Regions from separate parts of the Homo sapiens genome. Here all the other regions are linked to region 1. Evidence: promoter capture Hi-C in human tissues and cell types (Jung and others, 2019). All regions are on one chromosome and are shown on one strand. Each heading gives the region's core, a stretch centred on a gene start or on the middle of the fragment in contact. The rest is flanking DNA. Distances are from core to core; before and after follow the strand shown. Region 1 holds the start of FLRT3 (fibronectin leucine rich transmembrane protein 3). Region 2 overlaps MACROD2 (mono-ADP ribosylhydrolase 2). Region 3 overlaps MACROD2 (mono-ADP ribosylhydrolase 2). Region 4 overlaps MACROD2 (mono-ADP ribosylhydrolase 2). Region 5 overlaps MACROD2 (mono-ADP ribosylhydrolase 2). Region 6 overlaps MACROD2 (mono-ADP ribosylhydrolase 2).

Evidence for each region. Contacts are between HindIII fragments. The study calls those that stand out against the background at their distance.
Region 2: a contact is called between a fragment that was not itself captured here and the fragment with the promoter of FLRT3 in region 1, in 1 of the 25 tissues and cell types used here (dorsolateral prefrontal cortex).
Region 3: a contact is called between a fragment that was not itself captured here and the fragment with the promoter of FLRT3 in region 1, in 1 of the 25 tissues and cell types used here (dorsolateral prefrontal cortex).
Region 4: a contact is called between a fragment that was not itself captured here and the fragment with the promoter of FLRT3 in region 1, in 1 of the 25 tissues and cell types used here (dorsolateral prefrontal cortex).
Region 5: a fragment that was not itself captured here is called in contact with the fragment with the promoter of FLRT3 in region 1 in 1 of the 25 tissues and cell types used here (dorsolateral prefrontal cortex).
Region 6: a contact is called between a fragment that was not itself captured here and the fragment with the promoter of FLRT3 in region 1, in 1 of the 25 tissues and cell types used here (dorsolateral prefrontal cortex).

The regions. Positions count from the first base shown.
Region 1 is chr20:14,336,255-14,338,956 of GRCh38, forward strand. FLRT3 (fibronectin leucine rich transmembrane protein 3) reads right to left here and starts at 1,358. Exons shown (of 3, transcript NM_198391.3): 1 at 1,150-1,358. The region is part of intron 3 of MACROD2 (mono-ADP ribosylhydrolase 2); the gene reads left to right. The HindIII fragment of the contact is 3,050 bases long and covers 430-2,702 here.
Region 2 is chr20:15,766,687-15,769,388 of GRCh38, forward strand. All of the region lies in intron 8 of MACROD2 (mono-ADP ribosylhydrolase 2), which reads left to right. Among named protein-coding and RNA genes, the nearest start is that of KIF16B, 810 kb to the right of the region's middle. The HindIII fragment of the contact is 4,341 bases long and covers 1-2,702 here.
Region 3 is chr20:15,746,396-15,749,097 of GRCh38, forward strand. The region is part of intron 8 of MACROD2 (mono-ADP ribosylhydrolase 2); the gene reads left to right. Among named protein-coding and RNA genes, the nearest start is that of MACROD2-AS1, 820 kb to the left of the region's middle. The HindIII fragment of the contact is 4,219 bases long and covers 1-2,702 here.
Region 4 is chr20:15,483,304-15,486,005 of GRCh38, forward strand. All of the region lies in intron 7 of MACROD2 (mono-ADP ribosylhydrolase 2), which reads left to right. Among named protein-coding and RNA genes, the nearest start is that of MACROD2-AS1, 560 kb to the left of the region's middle. The HindIII fragment of the contact is 3,257 bases long and covers 1-2,702 here.
Region 5 is chr20:15,428,342-15,431,043 of GRCh38, forward strand. All of the region lies in intron 6 of MACROD2 (mono-ADP ribosylhydrolase 2), which reads left to right. Among named protein-coding and RNA genes, the nearest start is that of MACROD2-AS1, 500 kb to the left of the region's middle. The HindIII fragment of the contact is 5,462 bases long and covers 1-2,702 here.
Region 6 is chr20:15,372,209-15,374,910 of GRCh38, forward strand. The region is part of intron 6 of MACROD2 (mono-ADP ribosylhydrolase 2); the gene reads left to right. Among named protein-coding and RNA genes, the nearest start is that of MACROD2-AS1, 440 kb to the left of the region's middle. The HindIII fragment of the contact is 7,293 bases long and covers 1-2,702 here.

The sequences.
Region 1 (2,702 bases), core at 108-2,607:
AGATTTATTAAGAATGTTTAAAATAGCCTTATTATTAAAACCATTAGAGATTTTGGACTAAAAATTGAAAAAAAAATCAATTTTTTTTCTTTTAAATTCTAAATAAAATAATAAAAACAAACCCCCCAGATGTTGAGAAGACATGGATGGGCCTGTTGCACTCTTTACCTATATGCAACCATTTTGTTTCAGACCTAATTCAGTGAACAAAATTTTTTGAGAAGATACATTTAACTACTTTTTCAAGCTTTGTAGTATAAATGCATTTCTTCCAATATAAGATTTTCCTATTATAAGTTGCAAAGAATGGATCCTCTGCAAAACCCACTTGATAAGGGCTCTACTCATTTATTTTTCTTTCCTGCTACCCCAAACTCACTGCATACATCAGGCATAGCTTCCAGGGTGAGCTTTGTTAGTTTTTCTGAGTAGACTTAGCCATTTACTATGCTAGTCACATACTTCACTTGCCTAAGCAATGGATTTTGGTGTTCTATTGAAGAGGGAATATGGTTTGGAAGAGTGTCTCCCCCTCCTCTGAGTTCAATTTACTAGTTGAGATTTGCAAGCCTGAAATGCTTGAAGCAGCTCAGGCACGATAGCAGTGCAAGCTTTAAAATCTAGGTGTAGCTGTTAATCCTTTACAGAGGCACATAAGTCTCCAGGAGTAGCTCGGCTAGCTGTGAGCAAGATGTATGCTTTTCATGTACTGCGTACTCATGGGCTGAGGGATTATTGATTTTCTTTCACAGTTGTAAAAACAGCAATTGGTGATCATCCCACACGTACAGTACACACCAAGTTGCTTTCCTATCTGTGAAGAATCTCCTTGTATTCTTTAATATTTAACATTGAACTTTCCAACTTGCTGTTTTCCATAAGGCTCTTTTCACATAGCAATTACTCAAGACAGAAAATAGCCACTTACTATCTTTTATAAATGAAAGAAGGTTCTAAGAAACTTCTTACATTCAGCCATGATAGTGAAATTTTTCATTGCTGGCTTGCACGCACATATATTGCTTGTTGTGGTGACAGAGCAAACGTTCCTATTTGGATTTCTCATAGTATCAAGTCGTTTCTTTCTAGAGAGTAAAACCAAGCAAACTTTCTGGGACAATCATAAGAAAAAACATGGAAAACACTTACCAGGAAGACGAGAAAAAGCAATCCTATATACACTGCCGCTATAGCTGTAATTCCATTGACAGTGAATTGGAGTAATAGCCCTCCCCCGTCTCCCAAGCTCTGCGTCCAGTCCACACAAAGCCCACGGCAGCTGCAGGCTGAGCTTGTCCTGCTTCAGATCACTCCTACACTGAGGAGTGAGCGAGGGAGAGCATTCCAGTTTACTGCACACAGCCCACCTCCAAGTCTGAAGTTTAAAGCTTCACCTCGCAGTGGCTGAAGAAGGGGGTGATGTCATAGATGGGCAGGACTTAGCCAAGATCTTGTTCAGTGAGGTAACTGGATAATCAGACAGATGAGCTTTGCAAACGCTAGAGGGGGCGAGAGCAGCCAAAATGAAGCATCAGCCTGCCAAAGCTAGGATGCCATTTGGTTTGTAGGCAGCCCTTTGGAATCTCAACATTTTCTAAAGTTTACTACAAGGCAGTGGTAGCATACTTATGTATTTTTTTTAAAAAGCATGTTAGAAAGATATTTTTAAGATCACAATAGAAAAAGACAGGCTTTGTCTTATTTTTAAACCATCTGTATTGAAAAGAAGTTAACCAAAATCAAATTAGTTTTATTATTCACTAGCTAAAATAATGTTATAATTGTGGAAGATGTATGCCAGTAATCCCAACTGTGAATGTTTATTCAACATATGAATAAACAGCAGATTCAAATATATACATCAGGGCTGGGTGTGGTGGCTCACGCCTCTAATTCCGGCACTTTGGGAGGCCGAGGTGGGAGGATCACCTGAGGTCAGGAGTTCGAGACCAGCCTGACCAACATGTAGAAAAAATTAGCTGGGCGCCCGTAATCCCAGCTGTTTGGGAGGCTGAGGCAGGAGAATCACTTGAACCCGGGAGGCAGAGGTTGCAGTGAGCCAAGATTGCACCATTGCACTCCAGCCTGGGCAACAAGAACGAAACTCCATCTCCAATATATGTATATATATACACGTGTCACTGATTCATTTAGTTATGGGAAGGGCAATAGGAATGCCAAAAGATTTTTTTAAATGGTATTAAATGGTCTGTTCTTTTGGAGGCGAAGAAGTTACTGTTCTCTATGTTTTAGAAAATGAAAGTATGTTTTATGTACTTCTGCTACGTGTTTATATTATTTAAAATGGATTATTTATATTTAACGATCCCCCAATAAAATGTTTTTAAAAAATTTAATAGAATATTTTCCTTTCTAAATGTTTTTGCTGATCTGAGCATGGGTTTAGATATAAACATCTTAAGAAAAAAATCTTTCAGGGTGGTTTGCCTGGATTGAAATTATTTTAGTTTAATTTAGGTACATGAATAAACACTGGACAATTGTAAGACGTGGAGATTATAAATTTCTATGCCTAATTAACAGAATTATACTTGTATTTTTAATTATGATTTTTGTAGACTGGTTTCTGCTATTTGGTCAACAATTGCTTTGTGCCCGTAAGTTTTCCATCAAATAAGTGTATTTCACTTGTTCATGTTGGTGGTAAGAACTTAGCTTTTATATTTACCTGGAGGACCGTT
Region 2 (2,702 bases), core at 146-2,645, 1.4 Mb after region 1:
TTTATTACTTAGACGATCGATGGCGATGATGTGGAATTTGCAACAATTCTTTTCTTGAGACCCAGTAATAGTTACCTTTTGCTACATAACAAACCGCCTCATAGTATAATGGCTTAAAAACAGACATCTATTATATCTCAGGACTCTTAGCTTGGAGTTCTCTCCATGCGGGGTCTCTATCCTCAACTGGCTGGCCCAGGCTTGTTTTCATGGTGGCAGAAGGGATCCACCTAGCCAGAGGGCGAGCCCCCTTGCACAACACTTTTCATGTCTCTGATCGTGTAAGATTTGCTATCGTCCCACTGACCAAAGCCAATTACGTGTTCAAGCTCAGATTCAAGGAAGGAGCTCTCACTTCTCAGGGCAGTGCTGCCAAGAGTTTATGTACACTTCAGCAATCTATCGATACCACAAATATGAGAGGCCAGCTTTTTCTCTTTTAAAAAAATAAAGCTTATAAAATAACACAAGTACATAATTTCCCTACACAATGAGTAACTAGATTTTATGTTTTCTCTTTCGGTTTTCCTCAAAAACTTGTATAGATCATCTTTTGAGATGAATAGCGGAGCCCTTGTGATACACCACATTCTAAGAATGCTGGGGACACTGTATTCAACCCAGGACAGCTGCCTAAGGTTGTATAGTCTGTGCACCGCATGATGCAGGAGATGCTATTCATGCCATATTCCTAAAATTTTGTATATTTATTGCAATAATTTCCTGGCAAACAATAGTTACATTTCTAGAGAGAAGGACTGCTTTTTCTGATTCTTACAAAAATGACTTGTTGATTTGCAACTCATGCTGACAAGCCATCCTTTCTTAAATGAAGAAAGACTTGTTTAACCAATGGCAAAGAATTCTCCACCTTGTATTGATTATCTTTAGCCCCTCATTTCTTCTGCCTTGAAGTGCATGATTTTTCCTGTTTTCTAGAGTATGAAGTCACTTTAGTCTTAAGTCTTATAGATTGTGTTAGATCACATTCATGTTTACAAGCCAAATATTTCACAATTTTCAAGTACCTTGTATTCATTGTTAATTTTCCAAGTCTGAAATTGTTTCTCTCTGGACTCATTTTTATTTCAAGTTCTACTCTAAATGATTTTTCTTTTTCTGTTTCACTACATAAAGTTCTTTCTTCCTCTCAGGGGATCTCTGCTAATCCCTTTAACCACCGATTGCCAAAGACATTCACAACCCCTGTGTTGGCTTATTTCTTTGTTAAGTAAAATTTTTTCATCCTTTGAAATTGAAAACCTGAAACATTTTTTCTTAAGTCTATGACCAACCATTATTTATAAAGCTGTATCATATCTTAGAATTAGCATATTAGCATCAGTTGCAAAAAAAAAATAGGCAATAGAGAAAATAAAAGATATATGTATATAGCATGAAAGTTACTGCAAAAAGAAAATGAGGCTGTGTGTGTGTTTGTGTGTATGTGTCTGTGTGTGTGTGTGTGTGTGTAGTCGTGCATCGCTTAACAATGGGGAAATGTTCTGAGAAATGTCTTGTTATGCAGTTTCATCATTGCACAAACATCATAGACTGTGCTTATACCAACCTAAATGTTATAGCCTATTACACCCCTAGGCCATACAGTATAACCTATTGCTCCTAGGCTACAAACCTATACAACATGTTACTGTACTGAATACAGTAGGCAACTGTAGTGCAATGATATTTGTGTGTCTAAACATAGCTCAACATAGAAAAGATACTGTAAAAATATGATATAAAAAGATAAAAATGGTCCACTTGTATAGGGCACTTACCATGAATGGAGCTTGCAGGACTGGAAGTTGCTCTGGGTGAGTCAGTGAGTGAGTGGTGAGTGAATGTGAAGTCCTCAAACATTACCGCACACTGCTGTAGACTTCAGAAACACTGTACACTTAGGCTACACTAAATTTACAAAAAATATTTTTCTTTCTTCAATAATAAATTATTTACTGTAACACATTTTACTTTATGATTTTTAACTTAATTTTAACTTTTTGACTATTTTGTAATCATACAATTTAAAACACAAACACATTGTACAGCTATACAAAAATATTTTATTTCTTTATATCTTTATTCCGTAAGCTTTTTTCCATTTTTAAATTATTAATTTTCATGTATGTATTTATTTTCACTTTTCAGACTTTTTCGTTAAAAACTAAAACAAAAATACACACGTTACCCTGGGCCTACACAGGGTCAGGATCATCGATGTCACTATCTTCCACCTCCACATCTTGTCTCACTGGAAGGTCTTCAGGGGTGATATACTCATGGAGCTGTCAGCTCCTGTGATAATGATACCTTCTTCTGGATACCTGAAGGACCTTCCTGAGGCTGTTTTACAATTAACCTTTTTAATTAGTACAGGAGTACACTTTAAAATAATGATAAAAAGTTTAATATAGTAAATGCATAAACCAGTAATGCAATGGTGTTTTGTTTTGTTTTGTGTTTTTTTGTTTTTTTTGAGACGGAGTCTCACTCTCTCACCCAGGCTGGAGTGCAGTGGTGCAATCTCAGCTCACTGCAACTTCCGCCTCCCGGGTTCAAGCGATTCTCCTGCCTCAGCCTCTCGAGTAGCTGGAATTACAGGCGTGCGCCACCACGCCCGGCTAATTTTGTATTTTTAGTACAGACAGGGTTTCTCCATGTTGGTCAGGCTGGTCTCGAACTCCGAACATCAGGTGATC
Region 3 (2,702 bases), core at 77-2,576, 1.4 Mb after region 1:
TGTACATTATTTTGGAAGTTATATGAATATAATCATACTATCTTTGAAAAATGACAATTTGATTCTCCAGTTCCAATTCTATTACCATTTAGTTTTACTTGCCTTATTGCACTTATTTCCAGTGAAACAGTAAAGACTGAGTTTGGCATGGTTGTTTGGTTTCCAGTAAAAAAAAAAAAAAAAAAAAGAAACGGTGAAACTTTCATCATTTTATAATTTTCAAAATTAGGGATGATATTTGCTCTGTAAGCTTAGTAGAAAACATTTATTTCAGGCTAGGTTCCTTCTCTTCATAGTCTGCTGAGGGTTTCTGACATCGTTTGCTGAATTGTATTAAATACATTTTCTGGATCTATTGAGGTTGTGTTTTTTTCTCCTAATGTGCTAATGAACTTGTGAAGAGCTGAGCCAGACTGAGAGCTGAGCTGCCAGGGGTTCGAGTGGCCATGAAGAAAATAAGCCAAAATGAAAGTAACAGTCAAGATTTTCGTCAATAGTGCAATACTATAAGCAAGATGCTCAACTGGGGAAAGCACTGACTTCCCTAGTGTTCCATTGTTCATTTGGAATGGCACCATCCATGGTCAGATAGATCAGCATAGACATGATGAATCTCCTTATTGCTAAGAAAGTTCTAAACAAAAAGCTCCTTCTGTTTTATGGACCATAAACAGGAGAATGGGAAGGTTAGTAATGGAAGGTATTGAGTACTGAGTCAGAGTGAAAAAAGAGTATCCTCAAAGTTCCTCCCTCTACCATAATAAGGAGGTCTCAGCACCTGAGAAAAATGTCTTCTGAAGACCCCCAAATAGGAGGCCTCTGAATGTAGGTACCAGGACTAAGAATGCAGACATGAGTAAGAACATGGCCAGCTGATGGCACCTGAGTCCCTGACTGCAATACTCTTCAAAGACTGCAGTGCATTGGCTGTGCACCAAAGTAGGTGTGGGGAAGGTGGTTTTCCCTGCTGAGGCCTCTCAGGTAAACGTTTGGTAATCACCTATGGTCAGGCTTGAAGGATCACACATAGGTTTTCAGGCAGTATCGAGAGTCCTTAGTGATGAATGAAGATGACTGTGTTTAATGCCAAACTAAATTTGAATTCCTGGATGAACCCAGTAGTAACATGATACAATTGATGTTTTTAAATAGTATTGTTATGTTTATTTTAATGTGTCAGTAATATTTTGTTTAGGGCTCTTGTATTATTGCTTGTTGATGGAAAATCAATGGACTTTTGTATATTAAATTTGTATCCCGCATCTTTGCTACAATTGCTTATTATTTCCAGAATTTTTTTTTGTCAATTCTCAGATTTTCCACGGAGATGATCATAGCATGTATGAGCAAAGACAGCTTTATTTCTTCCTTTCCAATTTGTATACCCTTATTTCCTTTTCTTGTCTTATTACATTAACTAGTACTTCTAGTACAGTGTTGAAAAAGAGTGGTGAGAGGGGCCATCTTTGCCTTCTTGACATTAGCAGAAAAGCTTTGAGTAGATAATACAATTTTGTTTCTTTTTTCTAGTTTTCTTTTTAAATTCTGCTATCCTGTTTTATAGGGTTTTGTCCTCTGCAGATATTTTTAAGTTTTTCATTTATTCTTATAAACAGGGTAAGCATAGCTCTTTTAAAATGTGTTCTACAAATCCCAGTGTCTGAAGTGTGTGCAGATCTCTTTCTGCTGTCTGCCATGCTAGTTCTGGCCATGTTATTTCCTTTCTTAATGCATCTGCTTATATATGACTGCTTCTTGGCCATTGCCCTTAAAAATAACTTGGGAAGATTCCTTGAGGTCTAAAATATACCTCCTACAAAGAATGGGGCACTGTCAGTCTGGGACTACTTCAGTCAAATTTGGTGACTTAAATTCCATCACCAGTCCAGGCTCTGAGTTCAAATACATGAAAGAGCCAATCAATGTCCACAATCGCTCAAGAAATTTTCCTCTTTCCTTCCTTCCTTCCTTCCTCCCTTCCTTCTTTCCTTTCTTTCTTTCTTTCTCTTTATTTTTTTTTCTGTCCTGCCCACTCATCACCACAGAAAACTTCTCTATTATCCCCTCGGATTTGGGGCTTGTGGTGGAATATAGGTTATAATTAGTTCAGCCTTCTTTCAAAATGTAGCGTTCTGAAGCTTCAAAAGGAAGTGTTTCTTATAAGACTCCCACCTTGGGTAGGCCATGGACATTGACTTCTGTTCCTCTCACCACCTATAGCTCTGAATTGAAACCCATGTGTGCAGTATTGACCAGTGACTTCAGGACATAAGTATCTTTGTTACCTTAATATTCCACTTGTGTCTAGTTACAGGCTTCCACTCAAGTGTATTCCAACATTGTTCATATTTTATTAAGAAGTCTGATCTGAATAAATTTGCCCACCATTATTCTAAATCAAGACCCAGGAGAAATTTTCTCTAATGATATTTTGACAAACACGTATATACTGTGTGGGGAGGTGGAGGGCTATAGTAAGAAGAGCAGGCTTTAATCTTCGTTCCACCATTTGCCAGCCATGTAACTTTGGACAAGTCAGTGAAGACATTCAAACCTTGGTTTACTCATCTATAATATAAGGAATATAGAATTAGTGACAATAAATACAAAGCATAGCTTTGTATACAAATTATGTATACAAATACATAGCTCTTACCATTATTATTTTCATGTCTCCATGACATTTTTATATGTTCTTGACT
Region 4 (2,702 bases), core at 56-2,555, 1.1 Mb after region 1:
GTTGAAAAGACTTGCTTCATTGTAGTGTCTTTGCTTCTTTGTTAAAGATTAGTTGACTATATTTACGAGGGTCTATTTATGGACTCTGTATTGTTTTCCATTGATCTATTTCTCCATCCTTTTGCCAATACCACACTGTCTTGATTACTGAAGCTTTATGGTAAGTCTTGAAGTCAGGTAATATCAGTCCTCTGACTGTTTTCCAATATTGTGTTGGCTATTCTGGGGCTTTTATCTCTCCACATAAACTTTAGAATCAGTTTGTTTATATCCACAAAATAACTTGCTGGAATCTGGGTTGGGATTGCATTGAAAATATAGATTCTTCTTTCCAACTGAAAAGTTGGGAAGAACTGACATCTTGACAATATTGAGTATTTCTATCCATGCACATAGACTATCTCTTCATTTATTTAGTTCTCCTTTGATTTTTTTTTTATCAGTTTTGGAGTTGTCCTCATATAGATCTTTTACATATTTTGTTAGATTTACACCTAAGTATTTCATTTTCAGGTAGCTAATATAGACGGTATTTTGTTTTTAATTTCAAAATCTACTAGTTTATTGTTGGTACATAGGAGAATGTTTGACTTTTGTATATTAACCTTCTATCTTGCAATCTTGCTATAATTGCTTATTTTCTCCAGGATTTTTGGGTCAAACCTGGATTTCCTACATAGACAATCATGTCATCTATGGATAAAGACAATTTTACTTCTTTCTTTCCCATCATTATGCCTTTTATTTTATTTTATTTTATTTTATTTTATTTTATTTTATTTTTCTTGTCTTGCTGCTTTATCTAGGACCTCCATTGTGATGCTGTTAAGTTCCTGGTCTGATAATTTCAATATTCCTTCCATATCTGATTCTGATGCTTGATCTGTCTCTTCAAACTTTTGCTTTTTTCTTTTAGTAAGTCTTGTAAGTTTTTCTTGACAGCCAAACATAATGTACTACGTAGAAGAAAAAAAAGAACGACAATAAATAAGCCTTTAGTCATGTGGTGGTTAGATGTCAGGGGAGGGGAAGTATTATATAGTTATGTGATTAGATCTCAGTCTCTTGGCAACCCTGTACCTCTGAACTGTGAACATCTCAAGTGTTTCTTAGGTCCTCCACCTCTTTTAGGTGGGGCAAGAGGGCTAGAGTAAACTGGAATTAGGCATTTCCTTTCTTCTATCTGGAAGGCTAGAGTGGGCTAGAGTTGAGTATTTCCCTTTCCCCAGGTTGGTTAGGATCTGATAGAACCCCAATAGTTTAGGCTCAGGTGAAATATTTTCTCTTGAAGGCAGGCCTTATTATGACACACAGAATGCTGTGGCATGTTTCAAGATGTTTCTTCTTTTTTCCCTTCCCACTTCTGGAAGCATGAGGGGATTTTTCTCTAATATTCATTGTGAGAACCTGGTCCAGCTCCTGGAGGTAAAAACTCACAAAAGCATGATAGCCCTGGATGAATGGATCCCCTTGGAGTTTCCATCATTCAGACTGGTCCACATGGAGCCTCTAGTAATCCGTCAGTTAGAGTTTAGGCTTTTCTACTCCAGTACTCGTTCCTGCGGAGGCTTCTGCTAAGGGATTTCTGCTCAGATAAGTTGTGATTCTCTGTACCCACCTGTCTGTCTCTCCAGTTTTGGGGACAGCAGTTTGCTCTGTGACCTCACTTCTTCGAAGGATCTAAAGAAAGTTGTTGCTTTCTTTTAGTTGGTTTAGCTGTTCACGTGTTGGCACATGTGTTAGGACAGAGTGACATCTTCCAAACTCCTTGCATGTTGAACCGCCTATATATTGTTATTCTCACTATCTAGGATGTCTAGGAAAGTAAGAAAAAGATCATGTGCTGGCTCTCATTTTGTCATCCTCCTGACTCTTCATTTTCTTTGAGCCTAGGGACAAAAATGAAGGCCTGTTACTTTGTAAGAAGAAAAATGTCACATGTTCATAAGTGAAATACTGAGCAAACATCGACTCGATTTTTCCCTGAGGAATTGCTTCAATCTACACAAAAGCTCCACCTTCCCAAAGAGGTCCATCAAAGTAAATCTCTAACATTTGTGTTTAAATGGATAGTTATTTCTACTATGAGCACATCCTGAACTTCTTTTCCTGCCCCAGCAGGTTTTCCTGGCACATTACAACTCCAGGCTATCTTGTATCTGCTTACTACAGCTCAAGCAGGAGAACAGATTGATTTTTGATGAGAAATATGCCTTTTCTGGGGTTTCCTTATTCTACCACAAACTTGGTCCAGAGCTCATTGTTTGTGAAATACTGTCATTCATTATTAAGACGAACAATGATGCCTGCTGTGGGAAATGTGCATTTTAAAATGCAGTTTTCCTCCTTTAAAATTCTGTGGCTTATTTGGTCTCTTCATTCTCCTGTCATTCGTCAAACACTTGCTATACCCCAAGTGCCTTGCTGTGGTTAAGAGGAATGAGCCAGGTTCTGTCTGTTTGAGGGAAATGGTACATGCATCACTTCCAATTACATTTCTCTAGGCATTTTCAGGAGCAGTAACTTATGTATGGGTAAAACTTAGAAATCCAAAACCAGCCAAGGGGATGTTTTAGGTAGAATAGTAAAAGATCTTGTATGCAATTATTGCATGAATCGCAGTCGATTACTCAGGTCATTCTAAATTCATTTTAGATGATTTAAAGAAACGTATCCATATTACTAGGATGTGGTGAAATCCA
Region 5 (2,702 bases), core at 138-2,637, 1.1 Mb after region 1:
TTCAGAACATACAACCCAAAAATGTGCCCCTCTGGCACATTGACTATTTTGAGTCAAAGGCACGTAAAAAAAGGGCAGGTGCAAGAAGAACACTCTTGCAGTCCTTTTTAAAAGCAGGAGATAAAATTTCCAGTTGAAATATATCCTCCCTGTACTAGAAGAAAAGTGTCATTCTTATCATCAAGGATGGGAAGTTGAGGTCACTGGAAATCTGTCCAAACACACCTTGTTAAACTAACTCTTGTCTTTCTTATCACTTCACCCAATTAACTACCCTAGCCCAAGCCCCTTTACCTTGTCACATCTTCATAATCTACTACTCTTTGTCCAATTTAGTATATGTGTTTAACTTTAACTGCATCTTTCAGTCATCATTTTCTTATGAAGCCTCCAATGCCACATACAACTTGAATTAAATACATTTGTATTGTATTTTTTTTCTTGTTGATCTGTCTTGTGTCAATTTAATTATCAGCCACAACTGAAAAACTCTAGGAAGGTAGAGGTAAAATCTTGCCTTCCCTACACCTTGAGGGCTCAATGCAGAGGTTGTCAAACATTTTTTTTTTCTCTCCAGACATGAGATACATGATGCTCACATGTTCAGTTTGCTCCCATGGAATTCCTGGGGCTCAAGCTGTAAACTCACTTTTATCCTACTTAAAAGGTACAGTGGAACATGACTGGCATGGCACAAATATGGGGATGAATCTGAATCCTCTCTGATTTGTATTTTTAAGTAGACTGTTCCTGAACTCTGAGTCCTTTCTAATCGTAACAAATATATAGTAAGCTTGCAGTTGATTTTCATACGGAGAGTAACGCCTATTGATAGTGTTGGTGAATGCCTGTAAAGAGACTACATCACTTTCAGAGTCTGTGTTACACTGTTGCTTCATGATCTGTATCACTGAATGATTAAGTCATTTAAGAACATTCTTCAGATGTTATTGGCACCTCAAGAACCGTCAGAATCAAAGCATTGACTCATAAATTTAATTTAAAAAGAGCAGCTACTATGTTCCAGAAACTGTTCTACTTTCTCATTATAAACAGTAGAATTCACTATTAATAGTAAAGGCTTCCACAGGAGCAGAAAAAAGCATATATCATTTTACAGACATACAGTTGAGCTTAACAAAGTCAATTTGTACTCTCTCTGAAACAAAATCACATAAATTTTGACGTTTTTAATAGAGCATCATGCAAAGGGAATAAACAAACATAGGCTATGCAATAGTGTTAATAGAAATAAAAGGCAGTACACATTTAGCCAAAAGATATAAACAAAAAGGACTTAGATCTTTTATTATTATTGACCTCAATAGTAATGTTAGTTATTATGGTCCATAGCAGCTGCAGTTTTTAGATTCTAGCATAGTGCCAGTAACTTAAAAAAAAATTCTGTCATTAATTCCAACAGCACATTTCTTTTTTCACTTTTTATTTTATAGATTTAGGGGGTACAAGTGCACTGTTGTTACATGAATATACTGTGTAATGGTGAAGACTAGGCTTTTAGTGTAACCGTCACTCTAACAGTGTACATATACTGTACCCTTCAGGTAGTTTCTCACCCCTTGCCTCCTTCCACCTTTCTGAGTCTTCAATGAATTATTCTACTCTCTATGTCCATGTGTACTCATTTTTTAGCTACCACTAAAATGAGAACATGCAGTATTTGTCTTTCTGTGACTGAGTTATTTCACTTAAAATAATGGTCTCTAGTTCCATCTATATTGCTGCAAAACACATGATTTCATTCTTTTTTGTGGCTGAGTAGTATTCCACCTACCATCTTTTCTTTATCCAGTTCTCCACTGATGGACACTTAGGTTGACTCCATATTGTTACTATTGTGAATTTGTATTGTATTTTTTTTCTTGTTATAGATAGCACTGTGATAAATGCAGGAATAGAGGTTTTTAAAAAAATAATAATTTCTTTTCCTTTGAGGAGATACTGAGCAGTGAGATTGTTGGATGGAATGGTAGTTCTATCTTTAGTTCTTTGAGAAATCTCCGTACTGTTTTCTGTAGAGGTTGTACTAATTTACATTCCCACCAATAGTCCACAACACATTTCTGTATGGTGGGCATTATCTTCCTTTTACAATTGAAAAATACAGACCAGAAAGAGTAAAACAGCTTGGTTGAATTTACACAGAAATCCCTTGGCAGAGAAAGTTGCCATACCCAGACCACTTTCTATAGCTAGAAAGCCTAATTTAGAGTAAAATGTACATTTATATTTGTCAATTCATTTTTTTCAATCAAATTCTCTGAACACTGCTAAGCAAAATATGGCATAAGCAGTACTGTGCTGGTAAATGTTTAAAGACTGGCTGTCAAAAAAGGGGTACATATTATATAAGCTTCTTTTAAATTGTACTGACATAAAGAACATGTAGCACACAATTTACATATAATAATAAATAATATATGTAATACTCTTTATTATACATTCTAAATAGTTTTTTGATTTTCACAGAATGCTTTTGTTGAATTTTACCTAAAATGTGTATCAATAGCCAGTCTGTGGTTTTAACTGTCCCACAATATGGGTCATGAATGTTAATTGATGTTTTCAGATTTTAAGCAACTGATGTGACATCAGGTACCATGGAGCTGGAAAGAGAGACTTGTGTAGTATTTTACCATACACATACGACAGACACACATAATCTCAAGAGCATAGGTAAT
Region 6 (2,702 bases), core at 123-2,622, 1.0 Mb after region 1:
AGAGTTGGACTAGACTGGAATGTAACTAAAAGTGTACTTGAGGCTCACAGAGTATGCACATCTCCAAATTGTGTTTGTAAAATCCAAGTTATCATCCAGAATAGCTGTACCTGTTTACATTCTCCTCAGCATTGTATGAAGGTTCAGGGTTTTTGGCATCCAACAGTGGTACTGTATATTCAGACTTTAATTTTTACAGTTGAATGGGTATAAAAGAGCATCTCACTGCTGCTTTCAAGTGCATTTCCCTTATTTCTAGTAAGATATCTTCTCACTTAATGTCCATTGGGTTTCTTTCTGTGAATTGCCTTTGTGTTCATTGCTCATTTTTTTCCCTAGTAGGTTAACATCTTTTTCTAGATGCCATGTAGGAGTTCCTTACATATTTGGTATAATAATTATGTGTTGCCAAAATACATTTATTCCCAGTCTGGAGCTGCTCTTTTAACTTTGTCCATGGAGACAGATTTTAAAATTATGTTTTAAATTTTATTGTGGAAAAAATGTGCAGATCTTCTTCTTTATGGTTTCTGCCATTCATGTCTTCACAAATCCCTCCCAGGCTGGATGCGATAATGCATGTCTGTAATCCCAGTCCTTTGGGAGGTGAAGGTGGGAGAATTACTTGAGGCCAGGAGTCAGAGAACAGCCTGGGCAACAAAGCATGACCCCATCTCTACAAAAAATTAAAAAATTAGCCATATGTGGTGATGCATGCCTATAGTCCCAATTGCTTGGGAGGTTGGGGCAGAAGGATTGCTTGAGACCCAGAGATTGAGGCTGCAGTGAGCTGTGATCATGTGATCACACCACTGCACTCCAGCCTGGGCCACAGGAGAAAACCCTAAAAAAAAATCCTTTTCTATAACAATTTTATAAAATTATCCTGTCAATCCTATACCTTCTTTTAAAAAGGTTAAAATGTTTCTATACCTACTTAGGCTATCAACCTCACCTGGCCAGAATTCTGTGATAGGCCATGTTTCTATAAATGTACAACGCTATTTCTGTGACCTCTTTTTGTTGCATTGATTTAACTCTACTCCAGATTTAAATTTTCAGTGACTGTAGTTTTATAACCTTGATGTCTGGAAGGGCAAAACCCCATATATCTTATTTATTATCTTCAAAACTGATTTAAATATTCTTGAGATTTTCTCTTCTAGGTGAATTATAGAATTATTTTCCTTTTTTGTTTTTTCTTTTCCTTTTTAGAGACAGGGTGCTGTTCTCTCACCCAGGCTGAAAGGCAGTGGCACCATCATAGCTCACTGCATCCTGGAACTCCTGGGCTCCAGCAATCTGCCAGCCTCAGCTTCCCAAGTAGCTTGGACTACAGGCATGTCACTGCACTTAGTTAGTATTTTTATTTTTAGTAGCAATGGGGTCTCACTTTGTTGCCCAGGATGGTCTCAGACTCCTGGCTTCAAGTGATCCTCCTACCTTGGCCTCTCAAAGTGCTGAGATTACAGACATGAGCCACTGCACCCAGCTTTTTTTGGGCACTTTTCAAGAAGAAACTTTCTGGATTTTTATTGAAATGTCATTGAATTTATAGATTAATTTTATGATAATTGTTACTTTTTGAACTTGAGTCCTCCAATCCACAAACATTGTATATTTATGTGTATTTTGACATTTTTTGTAAATATTTGCAGTACTTTTCCTTGTACCTTTTGACATTTTCATCTTTTACATGCATGTGTTGTAACTTCATTTTGCCACGTCTGAATTTTTTCATTTGTCTTATTTTGATGTTCATTCTTTTGTTGATTTGTTTATTGTTTGTTTGTTTTCCCTCTAATATGAGAATTCATGTCTTTTGTCAACTCTGGAAAATGCTCAGTCATTGTTGCCTTTATCTCATTCTCTATTCTCATTATTTTTGAAACTCATGGAAGACTCTTGATATGCATAAAATCTTGCAAAAGCTTCAGAGGGAAATATATGTATAATTTCTATATATATATGCACACATTATATATAGATATACGCACATACACACATATAAGTGATTTTATCATATATATAATCACATATGATTATAATACAATCCCTTATATATAATCACATATATACACATATATGTATATATACATATGTAATTACACTTACATACATATATAATCACTTATATGATTACGTATATCACTGATATGTATATATAATCACTTATATGTGTGTATGTGTATATATAGTCTTATGGTCGCCAAATTCTCTTTTCTATTTTTCAACTACACCAAGCCCACTTTCGACCACAATAATGCTATTTATATCTTTACATGTTTACCTTCCACATAAGATTCATTTGAAGAAGAGAACACAGCTTTCCTTGGTGCCAGCTTTCCCTGAGTCTATGTATTTTTTTGTTATACAGTTGTGTTTTAAGATTGTACAGACAGTTGATATAACTGATCTTTGGAAACTCTATTCTGAAAGAATAGAGTGCCACTATTCCTGAGCAAGAAAGAGATGTTTTCAATTTCATTTCCTGAACCTTCCCACTCTCCCGTTACACTTAACTTAAACAAATGTACGTACATCATTGCATTTATAACTATCAGAGATACAAGTCAGAGAACTGGCCAGGATGTTCATTAATCATGTTTGCTGGTAGTAATAAAGGGAAAATCCTTAAAAGCTATGTTGTTTGCCTTGTGGGTGTTAGTCACATAAAATTCATGGCTTTGCCCTAAACTAGT